Linked DNA regions of Homo sapiens: region 2 is linked to region 1. The links are contacts of gene promoters, found by promoter capture Hi-C in human tissues and cell types (Jung and others, 2019). All regions are on one chromosome and are shown on one strand. The core of a region is centred on a gene start or on the middle of the fragment in contact, and the rest is flanking DNA. Distances in the headings are between cores, read along the strand shown.

Region 1 (2,700 bases), core at 79-2,578:
TGTTTTAATTTTATGGGTACATAGTAGGTGTATATATGTATGGGGTACATGAAATGTTTTGATACAGGCATGCAATATGAAATAAGCATTCATGGAGAATGGAGTATCCATCCCCTCAAGCAAGGATAAACCTTTGAGTTACAAACAATCCAATTACACTCTTTAAAGGTGTACATTTTTTTTTTTTTTGAGACGGAGTCTCACTCTGTCGCCCAGGCTGGAGTGGAGTGGCACGATCTTGGCTCACTGCAGCCTCCACCTCCCAAGTTCAAGCCATTCTCCTGCCTCAGCCTCCCGAGTAGCTGGGATCACAGGCACATGCCACCATGCCTGGCTAATTTTTGTATTTTTAGTAGAGACGGAGTTTCACCAGGTTGGCCAGGCTGGTCTTGAACACCTGATCTCAGGTGATCCGCCCATCTCGGCCTCTCAAAGTGCTGGGATTACAGGTGCGAGCCATCGCGCCTGGCCTAGAGGTGTACATTTTTTAACAGAACCATTCAAAAGGAGGTTGTGGGGATCATGACACTTCCATGCTACAGCATTAATCTCCTAAGAATAAGGATACACTCCCACATACCATGACACTCTGTTCACACCTAAAAAAATTTACATTTATTCCAGAATATCATCTAATCTCCAGTCCGTGCTTACATGTCCCCAATTGTCCCCAAAACATCTTTTATAGATTTTTTTAAAATTTTGTTTAAATGCCATATCCAATCGATATGGCAATCAAATGCAAATCCATATTGCATTTGGTTATGTCTCTTAGTCTTTTTGCATAAGGGGGGCCTCTCTTTAGGATGCAAAATCTTTATCATCTCTTCTTTTCCACTTGGGGACTTGGGCTGAAAATCAGGAGTGGCTGGAACACGCCCATTTACTGTTTGGTTTTGCAGGTTGTTGGAGGGTACTACAGAAGAACATCCCTCTGGAGAGGGGCCGTGAGCCTGGTTGGCCTAGACTGAGTGCCCTGGCAGAGCTCTTCCTCATGTGTGCAGTGGGAAAGAAGCCCAGATCAGTCCAAAGGCCTAACCCCCACTCCCAGACCCTACCCTACTCTTCAGAGAAATAGGCTCCCTACCCTGAACCCTAAAGACAGCTGTACCTTCATCCCCAGGGACCCAGCACCCCTTCTGGCCTATCCCCAAAGAGTCACCCTGGGTCTTAGGTAGTAGGTGGAGCTGAGGGATAATGGCCCAAGGCCAAGAGTTGATCCTTCCAACTTTGTTCAGTGATCCAGCTTTCATATCAGGTGATCAGGACAACCAGGCCAATCTGATAGGGGGCGGTGTTTATAAAAAGGCCACTCACCTAGAGCCAGAAGCTCCACACCAGCCATTACAACCCTGCCAATCTCAAGCACCTGCCTCTACAGGTACCTTTCTTGGGACCAATTTACAATCTCTGGGATCCCCAACTATAGAACCTGGAAGCTAGTGGGGACAGAAAGACGGGGAGCCTGGGCTAGGTGTAGGGGTCCTGAGTTCCGGGCTTTGCTACCCAGCTCTTGACTTCTGTTTCCCGATTTTAAATGAGCAGTTTGGACTAAGCCATTTTTAAGGAGAGCGATGGGGAGGGCTTCCCCCTTAGCACAAGGGCAGCCCTGGCCCTGGCTGAAGCCCAACCCCAACCTCCAAGACTGTGAGAGGATGGGGACTCATCCCTGGAGGAGGTGCCCCTCCTGGTATTGATAAAGAATGCCCTGGGGAGGGGGCATCACAGGCTATTTGAACCAGCCCTGGGACCTTGGCCACCTCAGTGTCACTGGGTAGGGGGAACTCCTGGTCCCTTGGGTATATGGAAGGTATCAGCAGAAAGCCAGCACTGGCAGGGACTCTTTGGTACAATACCCAGCATGCATGCTGTGCCAGGGGCTGACAAGGGTGCTGTCCTTGGCTTCCCCATTTTGGAGTGGTCACTTGCCTCTACTCCAGCCCCAGAAGTGGAAACTGAGATGATGTGTGGAGGAGAGAGCCAGCGTTCATGTTGGGAATCTTGAGGCTCCTTTCCAGCTCTCAGATTCTGTGATGCTCAAAGGGTGAGCTCTGTGGGCCCAGGACGCATGGTAGATGGAGCTTAGTCTTTCTGGTATCCAGCTGGGAGCCAAGCACAGAACACGCATCAGTGTTTATCAAATGACTGAGGAAATGAATGAATGAATGTCTCCATCTCAACCCTCAGCCTGGTCCCTCCTTTTTTCCCTGCAGTTGGTACAGATGGCATTGTCCCAGTCTGTTCCCTTCTCGGCCACAGAGCTTCTCCTGGCCTCTGCCATCTTCTGCCTGGTATTCTGGGTGCTCAAGGGTTTGAGGCCTCGGGTCCCCAAAGGCCTGAAAAGTCCACCAGAGCCATGGGGCTGGCCCTTGCTCGGGCATGTGCTGACCCTGGGGAAGAACCCGCACCTGGCACTGTCAAGGATGAGCCAGCGCTACGGGGACGTCCTGCAGATCCGCATTGGCTCCACGCCCGTGCTGGTGCTGAGCCGCCTGGACACCATCCGGCAGGCCCTGGTGCGGCAGGGCGACGATTTCAAGGGCCGGCCTGACCTCTACACCTCCACCCTCATCACTGATGGCCAGAGCTTGACCTTCAGCACAGACTCTGGACCGGTGTGGGCTGCCCGCCGGCGCCTGGCCCAGAATGCCCTCAACACCTTCTCCATCGCCTCTGACCCAGCTTCCTCATCCTCCTGCT
Region 2 (2,700 bases), core at 54-2,553, 360 kb before region 1:
CCTGGTCCTCAGGGTGTTATGAAGGTGTATTTGCTAATGTAGGAGGATAGAGCATATCCTATTTAGAGGTTGTTGGCTTGATTTATAACTTTGAAATATCCAGACATATAGTATGTGGGCCTCCATTTTTACTCCTGCCCTGGGCCCAGGCAATGTTAGGGGTAGGATCAGAGGGCAAGCCCTGGCCCCTGCCCCACCCCTCAGGAGACCCCTGCTCTCCAGCCAGTGAGCGCTGCCGAAGGAGGGCTGGGCAGGAAGCCAGCAGCCGAGGGAGCCCATATGCACCTGTGGACCTAGCTTCAGGGCTGGTGGGACCTAGCAGGCTGGGTCCTTGGGGCTAGGAGCAGGGGAACCCGAGAGAGCGCTTCTCCCAGGGTTGAGCTTCTGCTTGAAGCTGGGAAAGCCACAGAGAGGCTGAGCTTGTGGCCCAGGGACACCCAGCCTGGATGCGGCTGCTGTGCCCTCCCCCTGGAGGTCCCTCCTGCTTCCAAGGCTCACCCACCTGTGCATCCAGCTCGGAGCTCAGGGTGCTTCGATCCCTTTTTTGAGTTCATTCCTGTGGCCAAGCCCTTCCCCCACGGTTTCCCATGCTGGCACCTCAGGAGGATCCTGCCCCTTGTTCCCTACCCAGCTTCAACCCCTTCCTCCGAGGCTCCAAGCCCCCTCACCCCCCTCACTGCAAATCACCTTTCTTCCATTGGAGCCAGGATCTTAGCTCAGGGAGCGACCCCAGCCCCAGTATACAAAGAGAAGCCTGCGGCCCACAGTCCCAGAGCGAGGCTGCAGCTGAGCCCAGGCTAGGACGGGTCTCCTGCCCCACCCCTTCAGCTCAGGGGGCATCACCCACCTCTTTGGAGCCTCACAGACCCCCCTGGTTCAAATTTCCACTAACACTCTCTGTGATCTCCCACAAGCTGCTTTATATTCTGAGCTCCTTCATTTATGAAATGAAGATAATAAATTTTGCCTTGTAAAGTCGTTAGAGGGATTAGATAAAATACACGCATAGGCCAGGCCCTATGCCAAGAACACCTTAGGGCTGAGACCTCCTTCCCTGCCTCACTCTGGCAATGGACATTACTGAGCAGCACCAGGATCCCGAGGCCCAGACAGATGTGCCTCTTGCCCTCCAGGAGCTTCCCTCATGCTGGGAAAACAGACACCAGCCAGGAACCCGCAGGAGGCTCCCAGAGACGGGGAGTGTCCAGGAGGGAGACGAAGCTGGAGGCAGGAGGGGAGGGCAAGGGGTTGAGAAGGCTGGTCAAGGAGGGCCTCTCTAAGAATATGCCCTGAGGACCTAAGGGAACCAGTTGTGCAGCATGTGGAAGAAGAATGTTCTAGAGAGGGGGAACTCAGGACGGTGCCTTGCAGGTTCTCAGAAACGCCTGGCGCTTATCTGAGCACACACTCACGGACCCTGTTACCACACCACAGCGGGGCCTCTGTGTGGGGCTGATAAGGCCAGAAAAGATCTCAAGATATTTTCTTTCCTTTTCTGTGAGTGGCCTGAGATAGGCTGTGTGGGGACATTTGGCTCACGGCCTGCCTCACAGGCCCCCCCCGTCACCAGGGCACCATGGAGCACTCACTGCTGGACCTCCCAGTGGGGACTCGGGATTGGCCCCCGAGGGGGGCTGCCAGCCAGTGCTGGGGGCCCATGCGTGACGGGGCTGACCTGGCTCCCCTGTCGTGACCCACAGAGGCCTGCTCTCTGCTTGTGCAGTCTCTGCCTGCTCGAGTGTACAGCGTACAGGCTCTGGGCTCAGAGATGAGGGCTGGAAGCCAGCTATGTCACCTTCATTCCCTCACCTGTAAAATGGGGGTGCTGACAGTAACATCGTCCTCAGAGGGTTCCTGTAAAGGAGTGGGGGAGATGGTGCTAGAGCCTGGCTCATCCAAACGCCAGGCAAGGTGGCTCACGCCTGTAATCCCAGCACTTTAGGAGGCCAAGGTGGGCAGATTGCTTGAGGTCAGGAGTCCAAGACCAGCCTGGCCAACATGGCGAAACCCCCGTCTCTACTAAAAACACAAAAAATTAGCTGGATGTGGTGGCGTGCGCCTGTAATCCCAGCTACTCAGGAGGCTGAGGCAGGAGAACAGCTTAAACCCGGGAGGTGGAGTTTGCAGTGAGGCAAGATCGCGCTGCTGCACTCCAGTCTGGGTGACAGAGTGAGACTCCACCTCAAAAACAAAAACAAACAAACAAACAAAAGCTCAGTAGGTGCTACTTCCTTTCTTACAGGACCTGTGCCTCCTGGGATGACCCCCACCATCCACCCCTAGGCACCAGGACTGAGTCGGCTCTGAAAAGAAATGGGGAATGAAGCTTTGGGACTTGGTTCCTGCCTTCAGGGAGCCAATGGTCCAGCCAGGGGGATTAGGGTTCATGTCCCTTCCTGGGCCTCCAGGAGGTCATGACCTTCAAAGCAAGAATGAGGAAGCCCACGATGGTAGCGTGGGGCCCTGCATGAAGTGCCTGTGACGGGAGATGGAAGAACTCTGTCATATGTCCGTGAGAGTGAAAGGAACCTCAAGCATTCAAGGAAACCAAACCGGTACCCAAGATAGATGAAGAGATCAGGAATTTACCAGGTCACAGAGGCTTCTTGGCAGCCACCTGCAGGAGACGGATAACACCATGGCCAGGGCCCCCATGCTCCATACCGTGTCTGTGACCTCCACAGACTCACTCCACAATGT

Evidence for each region. Contacts are between HindIII fragments. The study calls those that stand out against the background at their distance.
Region 2: a fragment that was not itself captured here is called in contact with the fragment with the promoter of CYP1A2 in region 1 in 1 of the 25 tissues and cell types used here (ovary).

Annotation. Positions count from the first base shown.
Region 1 is chr15:74,747,517-74,750,216 of GRCh38, forward strand. It overlaps CYP1A2 (cytochrome P450 family 1 subfamily A member 2), which reads left to right and starts at 1,329. Exons shown (of 7, transcript NM_000761.5): 1 at 1,329-1,381; 2 at 2,214-2,700. The coding sequence starts at 2,223. RefSeq lists promoters at 1-1,419, 1,085-2,222. The HindIII fragment of the contact is 12,167 bases long and covers 1-2,700 here.
Region 2 is chr15:74,388,277-74,390,976 of GRCh38, forward strand. LINC02255 (long intergenic non-protein coding RNA 2255) reads left to right here. Exons shown (of 4, transcript NR_146881.1): 3 at 2,243-2,700. Among named protein-coding and RNA genes, the nearest start is that of LINC02255, 11 kb to the left of the region's middle. RefSeq lists an enhancer at 1-459. The HindIII fragment of the contact is 9,087 bases long and covers 1-2,700 here.